Regions from separate parts of the Homo sapiens genome. Here region 1 is linked to region 2. The links are contacts of gene promoters, found by promoter capture Hi-C in blood cells and fetal thymus (Javierre and others, 2016). All regions are on one chromosome and are shown on one strand. The core of a region is centred on a gene start or on the middle of the fragment in contact, and the rest is flanking DNA. Distances in the headings are between cores, read along the strand shown. Region 1 overlaps ZDHHC5 (zDHHC palmitoyltransferase 5). Region 2 holds the start of YPEL4 (yippee like 4).

Region 1 (6,155 bases), core at 2,808-5,307, 40 kb before region 2:
GAGGTTGCAGTGAGCTGAGATCATACCACTGGAGTCCAGCCTAGGTAACAGAGCAAGACTCCCTCTCAAAAAAAAAAATCTAATGTAGAAAACAAGATTTGTATTTAAGTAATTTTAACCCAAATTAGTAAGTGATAAACACTGTAAGAAATATGGGCCAGGCGTGGTGGCTCATGCTTGTAATCCTAGCACTTTGGGAGGCCGAGGTGGGCAGATCACCTGAGGTCAGAAGTTCGAGACCAGCCTGGCCAACATGGCAAAACCCCATCTCTACTAAAAATACAAAAATTAGCCAGGCAAGGTGACGGACACCTGTAATCCCAGCTACTCGGGAGGCTGAGGCAGGAGAATTGCTTGAACCTGGGAGGCAGAGTTTGCACTGAGCACCACTGCACTCCAGCCTGGGCAACAGAGCAAGACTCTGTCTCAAAAAAAAAAAAAAAAACACAAAGGAAACTAAAGCAAGCTTCCGTCTCTTTGCCTTGGGTGAGACTTCCATGTTATCTAGCTTGACTTCTCTAAATTCCTCACCTTTGTTCTCCTCAGCTCTCCCTGGATGCCATTATCCATGATCTTCACAGTTATCTGCCCATCTGAAACTTCTGGTCGAAGGAAGGGAGGTCTGATTACAATTGTCTTCTCTTTCTTTGGTCTCCCCAAATACCTAAGTGTCGAGAGAGAGAGAGAGAGAGACACAGCGAGAGAGCTTTCATTCATTTATATTTTAAAGTATCTACTGTTTCTGTAAACCATTTTTATTAGGTTGGTAAAAAAGTAATTGCAGTTTTGGCCATCACTTACTTAGCAATAAACAGAATTGATTCTGTGAAGGACTGCAGCAGGACTAGGCCTTTGTGAGCAGATACCTAGCTCAAGGAAAGCACTTTAGAGTGTATCTTATTCACCCTCAATTCTCAAAGATTTACCTTAATACCTGAAGAATATCAATGGAATTCACAGTGTCCACTAAAGCAGGGGTCCCCAACCCCTGGGCCGCAGACCAGTACCGGTTCATGGCCTGTTAGGAACTGGGCCACATAGCAGGAGGTAAGCAGTGGGCCAGTGAGCATTATCACCTGAGCTCCATCTCCTGTCAGATCAGCGGAGGCATTAGATTCTCTTAGGAGCGCAAACCCTAGAACCCTGTTGTAAACTACACATGCAAGCAATCTAGGTTGTATGTGTGCTCTGAGCTCACTGCAACCTCTGCCTCCTGGGTTCAGGCAATTATCCTGCCTCAGCCTCCCAAGTAGCTGGGATTACAGGTGCCTGCCACCTTGCCCAGCTAATTTTTGTATTTTGAGTAGAGAAGGGGTTTCACCATATTGGCCAGGCTGGACTTGAACTTCTGACCTCAAGTGATTCGCCCACCTCGGCCTCCCAAAGTGCTGGGTGTGAGCCGCCACACCCAGCCATGAGAATCTAATGCCTCATGATCTGAGGTGGAACAGTTTCATCCTGAAACCACCCCACCCCAGCCCCCATCTGTGGAAAAAGTGTCTCCCATGAAACCGGTCCCTGCTGCCAAAAAGGTTAGGGACCACTGCACTAAAGGATGGGCATGTAGGTACTTACCATTCTAAGATAGACTACTTACCATTCTAAGATAGAGTGGGTACTTAACATTCTAAGATAGAGAACCCTTCCTAAAGGCTCTCACCAGACCCCTCCTTTACCAGAACAAGCCCAAAGAAGATAAAAGTTCTGACCAATGGTAAACACTAGACCAGAGGGATAGGTGTACCTGGGTGCTGGAGAACTGCAGAGAACACGGCTGACATTGTTACAGCAGCCATTGGTGAAGGGGTTCACACCTCCCCGGAATTTACCCGTAACCTAGAGGGAGAAAAAAAATACCAGGTTAGAAGATGAGACCTTGACTTCCAAAGGCCAAAATACAAATCTATTACAAGTTATTGTGCACTCACTATCTGAGGGCTATGCAAATGAGTAAAACACAAGAAATTTATATATGTTATGGTTAAGAGCAGGGAATCTACAGTCAGGGTCCTTAGTTCAAATCCTAGGTCTACCTCATGGTTGCTGACCCAAAACCTCAGTTTCCTCATGTAAAATGGGATAGCTTTCTAAATATTGAAAACTAAGATAAAGAATAAGCAATTAAGGGCTGGGCATGGCAGCTCACACCTGTAATCCCAGCACTTTGGGAGGCTGAGGCAGGTGGATCACCTGAGGTCCGGAATTTGAGACCAAACTGGCCAACATGGCAAAACCCCATCTCTACTATAAAAATATATAAAAACTAGCCGGGCATGGTGTCAGGCACCTGCAATCCCAGCTACTTGGGTAGCTGAGGCAGGAGAATTGCTTGAAGCCAGGAGGCAAAGGTTGCAGTGAGCCGAGATCGTGCCACTGCGCCCCAGCCAGTGGGCTCCAGCCAGTGGGCTCCAGCCTGGGTGACAAAGCGATACTCTGTCTCAAAAAAGAAAAAAAAAAAGCAATTAAGGTTAGCTACTATTATATGCACAAAAATCATTGCTTTCCTGTAAGCAGCACTATAAGCTTCTTGAGGGCTAGCCTAAGTCTTTCATTGTTTCTATAAACTCAGAGCCTAAATTCTCCAGTATCCAGTGGGCATATAGTAAATGTCTGTTAACTAAGAAGTGGCCTCTATTCTTTTTTTTTTTTAGGAAGATCTTAAATATTTATATGTATATGAACATATATGTACATATACATATGTCTTGCTACACTTTAAATTTAAAAATCTATTAATATGATTTTTGACAAACTAAAGAAAGAATACTATTATTTGGATACCAAGTTCTATGGTGAGTATTGTTTAAAAAACTATCATCTTATTCTTTATGCTATATTGTCTAGTTTCAGTTTGGTTTGGGTCTCTCAATTGATATTTCAGGTGATGATGCCAAACCATCCAAGACTTTCTTTGGAGATAGATATTATTTTGTTATAAAATATATTTTTAGGCTGGGCGCAGTGGCTCATGCCTGTAATCCCTGCACTTTGGGAGGCCGAGGTGGGCGGATCACGAGGTCAAGAGATCGAGACCATCCTGGCTAACATGGTGAAACCCCGTGTCTACTAAAATTACAATAAATAAATAAATAAATAAAAGATATTTTAGCACTTTGGGAGGCTGAGGTGGGTGGATCACCTGAGGTCGGGAGTTCGAGACCAGCCTGGCCAACATGGTGAAACCCTGTCTCTACTAAAAATACAAAAATTAGTTGGGCGTGGTGATGCACATCTGTAATCTCAGCTACTTGGGAGCCTGAGGCAGGAGAATCGCTTGAACCCAGGAGGCAGAGGTTGCAGTGAGCCAAGATCACGCCACTGGATGCCAGCCTGGGCGACAGATCAAGACTCTGTCTCAAAAAAATAAAAAATAAAAAAAGATATTTTAGGGCAAAATTCAGCCTTTATCTCTATTGTCTTAGTATCTCTTTGAGAGTATCTTTATTATTATTATACTTACAGCTCTAGGGTACATATGCACAACATGCAGGTTTGTTACATATGTATACATGTGCCATGTTGGTGTGCTGCACCCATTAACTCGTCACTTACATTAGGTATATCTCCTAATGCTATCCCTCCCCGCTCCCCCTGCCCCACAACAGGCCCCAGGGTGTTATGTTCCCCACCCCGTGACCAAGTGTTCTCATTGTTCAGTTCCCACCTATGAGTGAGAACATGCGGTGTTTGGTTTTCTGTCCTTGCGACAGTTTGCGCAGAATGATGGTTTCCAGATTCATCCATGTCCCTACAAAGGACAAGAACTCATCCTTTTTTATGGCTGCATAGTATTCCATGGTGTATATGTGAGAAATGGCCTCTATTCTTACATGGCCTCTACACTTACATGAGGAACTAGGACTACCTCACTCCCTACCATTAATCTCTACATAATCATGAAAAGTATTCATTAAGCATCTCTTTGTGGAAGCACTACACTGCACACTAATCAGAAGGCTAAAGAGACATGACCTGCTCTTCAGGGGTCTCTCGTCACTTTTCTCCATACCTGTTCATTGGTTGTGCGTCCCCTGGCCACCAGAACCACGTGAAATCCCGTGAGGCCAGCTACAGGGATGAAGAATAAGCCAGCCACACACATTACTGCCATTCTGATGCCAAACAATCAAGGAGAACAGAGCAACATGACCTCACTTTCCCCGGCCCCTACTGCAGCCATTTTCCCTTTAGCCCTCATTCCTCCCCCTTCCAATCCCACAATCTAAAAGGCCTTGAAGGATACGTGACAGCCGTGCGGACCCCTGAGAGTTCCTCTATGTGGTAGAGGACATAAAGGAGGCCAAAGCCAAACACACCCATAATGTGGGCTGTCAGGGAAAGGAGGAAAAGGAAAAAATAACGGTAGTTCCGGCGACCAATACAGTTATTCACCCAGGGGCAGTGATGATCAAATTCCTAGGGACAAAGAGAGACAGATGAGAGGCATCCCTGGACCATAGCATTAAATTACTTCTGTCAAGAAGAGAAACAAATGGCAGCTAAGTTTTGATCATGGTCACCAATTAGTTCAAAATTAAATCCAGTTTATTTTGCTCTATAAATCTGCAAGGGAGACCTTCCAGAGGTTGGTCAAAGGCCAAGGCCAACCAGGCGTAGTGGTGCACACTTGTAGTCCCAGCTACTTGGGGGGCTGGGGCTTGAGCCCAGGAGTTCAAGGCTGTAGTGAACTATGATGACTGCCTGTGAATAGCCACTGTACTGGGCAACATAGCAAGACCCCATCTCTTAAAAAAAAAAAAAAAAAAAAATTGGCCGGGCGCGGTGGCTCACGCCTGTAATCCCAGCACTTTGAGAGGCCGAGGCGGGTAGATCACGAGGTCAGGAGTTCAAGACCAGCCTGACCAACATGGTGAAACCCCATCTCTACTAAAAATACAAAAATTAGCCGGGCGTGGTAGCGCGTGCCTGTAATCCCAGCTACTCAGGAGGCTGAGGCAGGAGAATCGGTTGAACCCGGGAGGCGGAGGATGCAGTGAGCCGAGATTGCGCCATTGCACTCCAGCCTGGGCAACAGAGCGAGACTCCGTCTCGATAAATAAATAAATATATATATATATAAAAAAGACCAAGGCCGGCTCTCAATGTTTATCCTATGTGACCAAGGAACTCTAAAAGTGACGAATGTCAGAGGTTTTGCAGAAACATCAAGATTCATAAGAAAAGAGGATTAGAAGGAAGATTTGGCAGGTAACTGCTTATAGCTAAGTGAAAATGGAATGGAAAAAGGACAAGGGATGCAGAAGGACAGGCAGGAAAACAACTACAACAAATTGAAACACAACAGCATGATTTTCTGGAAGAGAAAATGCAAAGCCAGGATAAATAACCAAAACTGAGCCAATAGATAGAAGGCTAGAACTATAAATCTTGGTGTCAAGAAAGCCTACACCCTGCTAGTGCAATGGCTCATGCCTGTAATCCCAGCACTCAGCACTCTGGGAGGCCAGGGCATGAGGATCACTTGAAGCCAGGAATTTGAGATAGTCCAAGCAACACAGTGAGACCTCATCACTACAAAAAGTAAAAATAAATAAAAAAGAAAGCCTATGCCCATATTGAGTTAAAGCTTCCCTCCTGCAATAATATTTATGCTCTGCCTCTCATGCCATGTCATTATTAACACCATTTGACAGAGCTGGACCATGTGGCCAACGTAGTTAGACAGGACTATACCACATCCAAAGCTAAGAATCTATTATATGGTTAGGATGAAGACAATGAAGGTTAAGCATGAAGTCTTACCCCACCCAGGGTGCTTACCTCCACACAGTTGTCACAGACACTGCAGTGGGAACATCGAGGGGGACGGTAAAAGCGGCAGGTGGCACACCATTTCATGCGCACCTGGATGCCCTTTATCTCCACTGTTTTGTAAAGGGGAGCTCGGAAATCATCTTCCTTGTCCTCATCCTCCTCAGCTGTAGAGAGGAAAAGTCAATTAAAAACAACTATGCCAGAACTGTAGTAAGTGCTAGGGATTCAATGATGTTTAAAATATAGCTTCTGCCTTTGAGGAATTCACAGTCTAATGAGTGAGACTAGGAACTAGGAACTATAAGACTGTGAGGTCAGGTCTTTATACAACACTATGGGAACATGGATGAGGGAGCAATTTATTCTGCATTGGGAAGTGA
Region 2 (5,908 bases), core at 2,923-5,422:
TGTCCGGCCTGCTTCCAAACTTTGAATCCGAGCTGGGCCCAGTGACTCACGCCTGTAATCCCAGCACCTTGGGAGGCCAGGGTGGGTGGATCACTTGAGATCAGGAGTTCGAGACCGGCATGACCAACATGGTGAAATCCCGTCTCTACGAAAAATACAAAAATTAGCCAGGCATGGTGGCACATGCCTGTAATCCCAGCTACTCAGGAAGCTGAGGTGGGAGAATCACTTGAACCCGGGAGCCGGAGGTTGCAGTGATTCTCGATCATGGCATTGCACTCCAGCCTGGGAAACAGAGCGAGATTCCATTTCAAAGAACAAACAAACAAACAAACAAAACAAAAGAACTTTCGATCCATGCCTTGAAAACTAATCATTTGCCTTTTCCCACTTCTCATTGTTCTCCTCAACAATTGCTTTTCAAAATCTTTTTTTTTCTTTTTTTTTTAAATTTTATTATTATTATACTTTAAGTTTTAGGGTACATGTGGTGCACAACGTGCAGGTTTGTTACATATGTATACATGTGCCATATTGGTGTACTGCACCCATTAACTCGTCATTTAGCATTAGGTATATCTCCTAATGCTATCCCTCTCCCCTCCCCCCACCCCTCAACAGGCCCCAGTGCGTGATGTTCCCCTTCCTGTGTCCATGTGTTCTACTTTTATCTCCCCTCTCTTCTGCTGCCCAAACAAAAGCACTTCTCTCTTCTTTCTTTACCTAGCTTTTTCTCTCAATTCCAAATCTCTAGTACTATCCCTCAAGACACCCACATTGTCTTTTCAGAATTTACTTTAAACCCCAGAATCTTCCCTGATTAAATATTTAGAATCCCTTTTTATTTTCATGCTCAACTAGCAATGTCTCCCATTACCCACATTTCTCTGCCTTAACTTTTTTTTCCCTCTTTACGTGTGAGAAGAAAAACAAACCACCCCCAAGCACTGCTTTCTAGAAGTCCCTATCTTTGTCGTACTTCATTTGCTAAATGCTAGACTCTGTTAGAAATCAGGGTTTTTGTCTTAGGGGATATGTTCTGTGTTCACATACTTTAGTAACATGCACAGGACAGCACCCCATGAGAAATGAATTCTGAGTCAAATGAAATTTAACTGGAAGCTGCTAGAAAAATAGCAACAAAAGATGTAATGTCTTCATAAGACAAAAATTTGGCATGTGTCTCTTGAGATATCAGAATTTAATAATAAATCCTCCCTGGGTTTTGGGGGTCATACATTGAGAATGCTGTTTTGGTTTCACTTTTGTTTTTTTGGTTTTGTTTTTTTTTTTGAGACGGAGTCTCTCTTTGTTGCCCAGGCTAGAGTGCAGTGGTCCCATCTTGGCTCACTGCAACCTCCGCCTCCTGGGTTCAAGCGATTCTTCTGCCTCAGCCTCCCAAGTAGCTGTGATTACAGGCATACGCCATCACACCTGGCTAATTTTTTGTATTTTTAGTAGAGAGGGGGGTTTCACCACGTTGTCCAGGCTGGTCTCGAACTCCCAACCTCAGGTGATTCGCCTACCTCGGCCTCCCAAAGTGCTGGGATTACAAGGTGTGAGCCACCTCACCCAGCCAAGAATGCTTTTTTTTTTTTTGAAACAGAGTCTCGCTCTGTCACCAGGCTGGCGCGATCGGCTCACTGCAACCTCTGTGAGTACAGTGGCGCCATCTCAGCTTACCGCAACCTCTGACTTCCTGTTCAAGCGATTCTCCTGCCTCAGGCTCTCGAGTAGCTGGGATTACAGGCACGTGCCACCATGTCCAGCTAATTTTTGTTATTTATTAGGGATGGGGATTTCACCATGTTGGCCAGGATGGTCTCGATCTCCTGACCTTGTGATCTGCCTGCCTCGGCCTCCCAAAGTGCTGGGATTACAGGCGTGAACCACCGCACCTGGCGAGAATGTTGTTTTGAAATGACACTACTGTTTACTGCCTATCATGTGCCAGGCATTTTTCAGGCATTTAAATGTTATCTCACTTTATTCTGCATCTCCATGAGCTAATAATAATAAATATTATTAGCTTCATTTAGCAGAAGAGTAAGACTAAGGCACAAAGATTATCAGTAATTTGCCTAGTGGTTCCTGCCAAGTAATTGGCAGAGCTAAGAGTCTAATTCAGTCTCTTTGAGACCAAAGCCAGACACTTGGTTCATGTCTGAAGATGCAACTCAACTGCTCTATTAATCAGAGTTCTCTAGCGGGATAGAACTAATAGGATAGATGTATATATAAATCAGAGTTATTACGGAATATTGACTCAGATGATCACCAGATGAGGTCCCACAGTAGGCTGCCTGCAAGCTGAGGGGCAAGGAAGCCAGTCCGAATCCCAAAGTTGAAGACCTTGGAGTTCAATATTCGAGGGCAGGAAGCGTCCAGCATGGGAGAAAGACGTAGGCTCAGAGGCTAAACCAGTCTGGTCTTTCCACGTTCTTCTGTCTGCTTTTATTCTGGCCTAGCTGACAGTTGATTACATTGTGCCCATCCAGATTGAGGTGGGTCTGCCTTTCCTAGTCCATTGACTCAAATGTTAATCGCCTTTGGCAATACCCTCACAGACACACCCAGGAACAATACTTTGCATCTTTCAATCCAATCTAGTTGACAATATTAACCATCACCAGTCCACCCCTTGTCAACTTGAACCCATACACGTCTCCTGAAATCATACATGATCTTCAAATAAAGACAATAATAAGGTCATAATTACGCTTAACATAATACAGCTATCCTTTGTACAACCGGAAACGCACCAATCCCCAACCCAAATGCTATTACATAGAGTTAACAACACTTAAGTGCTGATATCAAGTCAGTAAGTCTTATGTCACATGATAAAGGCAAAAGAAAGGAAATAAAATGAAGATATTTTCTTAATACAAGTGTATATATGCACAAACATGTTCCTAACAAAAGGAGGAGGAAATACTCATGACAATTACAGTCCTCATTTTCTGCAGCTGGTCACATGGTCATAGTTCGTATTGATGACTACCTTCTTTGACTACCCATTCTGAATTCCGTTTGCCTTCAGCAAGCACCTCAGCAGATTATGTTTTTTTTACCTGGTGGAGTGACCCAAACCTTCATTCCTGAAGGGTCTGGGCCATTTGTCATCCTGCCTGGATTGGGCTGTTGCAGTTTCCCATTGACCTTAATCACAGGGCATGGTAATATTAAGAGACGCCCTACGTGATCTCCTGTATTCCACGCATACTTCCTTACCGCCATTGTGGAGTAGTAGACTGATTTCATCTTGATAGTCTGGGTCAAACACTGTAACTCCCTTCTTAGCAAGTTGGCTTAAAAGTAAGAAGAGCCCAAAGTGGCCAGGTGGCAATCTTAACTTCCAGTTTAATGGAATCATTGTTGTGTCTCTTGGTGGCAGCATTCCTCCCTCTGGAACTAAGACCTCTAGGCCAGCAGAACATAATGCCGCGGAAACAACTGCTATTTTGGAAACATCTAAATGCACGGGTCTGCACTGGACATTGCAGTCCTGGGATGTAGAGAGTAATTTCCCAGAAGGCCTGTCTCAGGAAGTTTACAGCCCAATAGAGAACTTCATATAACGTAGGTGTCTCCATTCATGAAGCACGCATAATATGGAGGTAGCTGTTAAGGGGTTCCTGCATGCAAAATGTCACATTGGGTCTATTACTCCTTCAGGAGTATTAAACCAAGGCTTTGAGGCTTGGTACAAGTTTGGGGGCACAGTTTGCCATCCATGACAATTAGTACATCTGTCTTTTCCCTGCTTCAGGGCTGGTGTCCAAGCTGAAATGGGAAAGTGTATCATCTTAAATGTGTGTGTGCTCCCTCACTCTGCATCCATCTCTTCCTTCACCAGCCTTGCCACCTCCTTTCCTCCAGCCCTGCCACCCTCACTGCATCCTTGCCCAGCCCTGTCCTTCCCCCAGGTTCTTCGTATCTCCTTGGCCCCACTGCCTTCCTCCTTAACAACCTGCCTCTCCCCTTGCCCACCATCGCCGCCTTGTCCCTCGGCCCCCACTCCTCTAGCCCCGTCCCTTGATGCCTACCCCCTCCCTTCCTTCCGACCCGCCTCCTGTGTCTCCCAGCCCTGCTCTGACGTGGGAGGTGAGGGGGGGTGGGGGGGATGGATGACTCACAGTGTTATGATGCAGTTCCACAACACACAGCCACATTCACCCACAGACCGAGGTACAGAACGAGAGACAACCTCTGCCCCCCCAGCAGCTGGCCAGCTTTGCAGCCCCAGTCTTGAGCCCCCAACTACCCTCCCCCCACCCACCCCCATCCCCTTCCCAATTGAAGGAGCGGAAAGAGAAGAGAGAAGAGTGAGCAGAGAGATTGAGAGATTGAGAGAGAGAGAGAGAGATAGACGGAGATCTCTGGAGCAGACCTCAAGGTGAGGGGGCAGCCCTTCTCCAAATGAATTTTTTTCTCTTTGCAAATTTCCTCCTCCTGCTGCGTGTTGCTTTCTCCCCTTTGCAAAAGCATTATTCATCCACCCTTTGTCCTCCCTTCCCCCTCCCCGCTGCCTCCGCTCCTCTCTCTCGGTTCCTCCATCCCTCTCCAAGCTCTGACGATTCCCGCACTTATTTCCCGGCAACTTTGGCTGCAGCATCAGGCATCACTGTTTATTGTTTTGCTGCTGGTGCAGACCCCCAAAGCCTGCCCTGGGAGCTGGCGGTGCTGCTAATTATTTGGACCATACCATACTGAGAATACCAGCCTGGGGGGTGCCAAAACCTCAGAGCAGATGAGAAAATCCATTGTGAGCAGGTGTCCCCCCCCTTTTCTTTTCCCCCCTGAGAAGCACGAGATTCGCACCTGGTTCCTCCAGCCTCCGCCTCGGCGCCTCTGCTGTCAGCTGTCAGTTGCCCCCGCCAGCCCTCCCTCTCCCCTTTCTCCTACGGTCCAGCCCCGTCTCACTTCAGGGGAACATCTCTCCCCAGCACTCGGCTTGCCTTTGTTTTTTCTCCAGTCATTTGCCCAACTTGCTTCTCCCTGTGATCCGAGATGGGTGAAAAAATGACCCCTACTCCCCTTTGTGATTCTCTGGCCTTCTGTGCAGCCTTTCCTTGGCTTGACTGGGAATTAGGGGAGAGGGAGGGAGGCGTGACGGCCGGAGGCTGGAGAAGGAGCTCAGGATTGGGGACCCAAGCTGCCCCATTCTCCATGCCCCTTGAAGAAGGTGTTTCAAGGTGGTGCATGTCAGAGGGGAACTCGCTGGCAAAGTTGAAGGCAAACCTGTGAAGCAGAGACTGAAAGGTGGTCTCTTGGCAAGGAGGGCCCGTTTCCTGCAGCCGGAGCCCAATGTCACCCTGAACTCAGCCCAAGGTGTCTTCCTGGGACCCAGCCCGGAGGAGAGGACCTGAAACTGAAGATAGTCTCTATGGAGGTTTTGCGGAGAGACTGCCTGGCGGCCTTCAGAGAGAGTGGAACAGCTGGGTGCCTGTGGCCACTGCGGAGGACAGGACGAGGAGAGCCTGTATGCCCTGGCTAACCAGAGCCAACACTGCCTCTTCTCTGCTTAGTGCTCTAGCATTGCCAGAGTGCCCAGCTGGCATCTCTGAACCAGACTTAGGCTAACCACCCACAGTGGGCTGGGAAGCCCTATGAAGGAGAAAGCAGCAGCTCACCTGCTTATCGGAGCCAACAGGGGCCACCTCCCTTCTTATCCTCTGCCTCCAGCACCTTCAGCCACTCGGAGGCTGGCGCGTGGGCAGAAGGCAATCTTCCTCTATTCCTAATCAGAACCCAGCAATTACTTCATCTTCAGTCACCCACAGAGTCACTGCTGTTTGTCCCTGCCCCTGGGAGAAGGTAGAAAGAAACATTTTCTGCCTTGTGCCCCAAAGCACAGCTGTTAAAAATAAGAGTCCCCCTTCTGCTGTTCGTTGTGGCCGTTGCT

The links. The method cuts DNA at HindIII sites, captures the fragments that hold promoters and counts their contacts. A CHiCAGO score of 5 or more calls a contact.
Region 1: a contact is called between a fragment that was not itself captured here and the fragment with the promoter of YPEL4 in region 2, in 1 of 17 cell types (neutrophils). The highest score is 5.3, in neutrophils.

Annotation. Positions count from the first base shown.
Region 1 is chr11:57,688,292-57,694,446 of GRCh38, reverse strand. ZDHHC5 (zDHHC palmitoyltransferase 5) reads right to left here. Exons shown (of 12, transcript NM_015457.3): 4 at 5,782-5,939; 5 at 4,244-4,416; 6 at 4,010-4,112; 7 at 1,745-1,836; 8 at 532-664. Among named protein-coding and RNA genes, the nearest start is that of MED19, 21 kb to the left of the region's middle. The HindIII fragment of the contact is 3,064 bases long and covers 2,526-5,589 here.
Region 2 is chr11:57,648,176-57,654,083 of GRCh38, reverse strand. YPEL4 (yippee like 4) reads left to right here and starts at 4,172. Exons shown (of 5, transcript NM_145008.3): 1 at 4,172-4,399. It overlaps MIR130AHG (MIR130A host gene), which reads right to left. Exons shown (of 2, transcript NR_186232.1): 2 at 1,183-3,786. RefSeq lists an enhancer at 5,661-5,800. The HindIII fragment of the contact is 14,007 bases long and covers 1-5,908 here.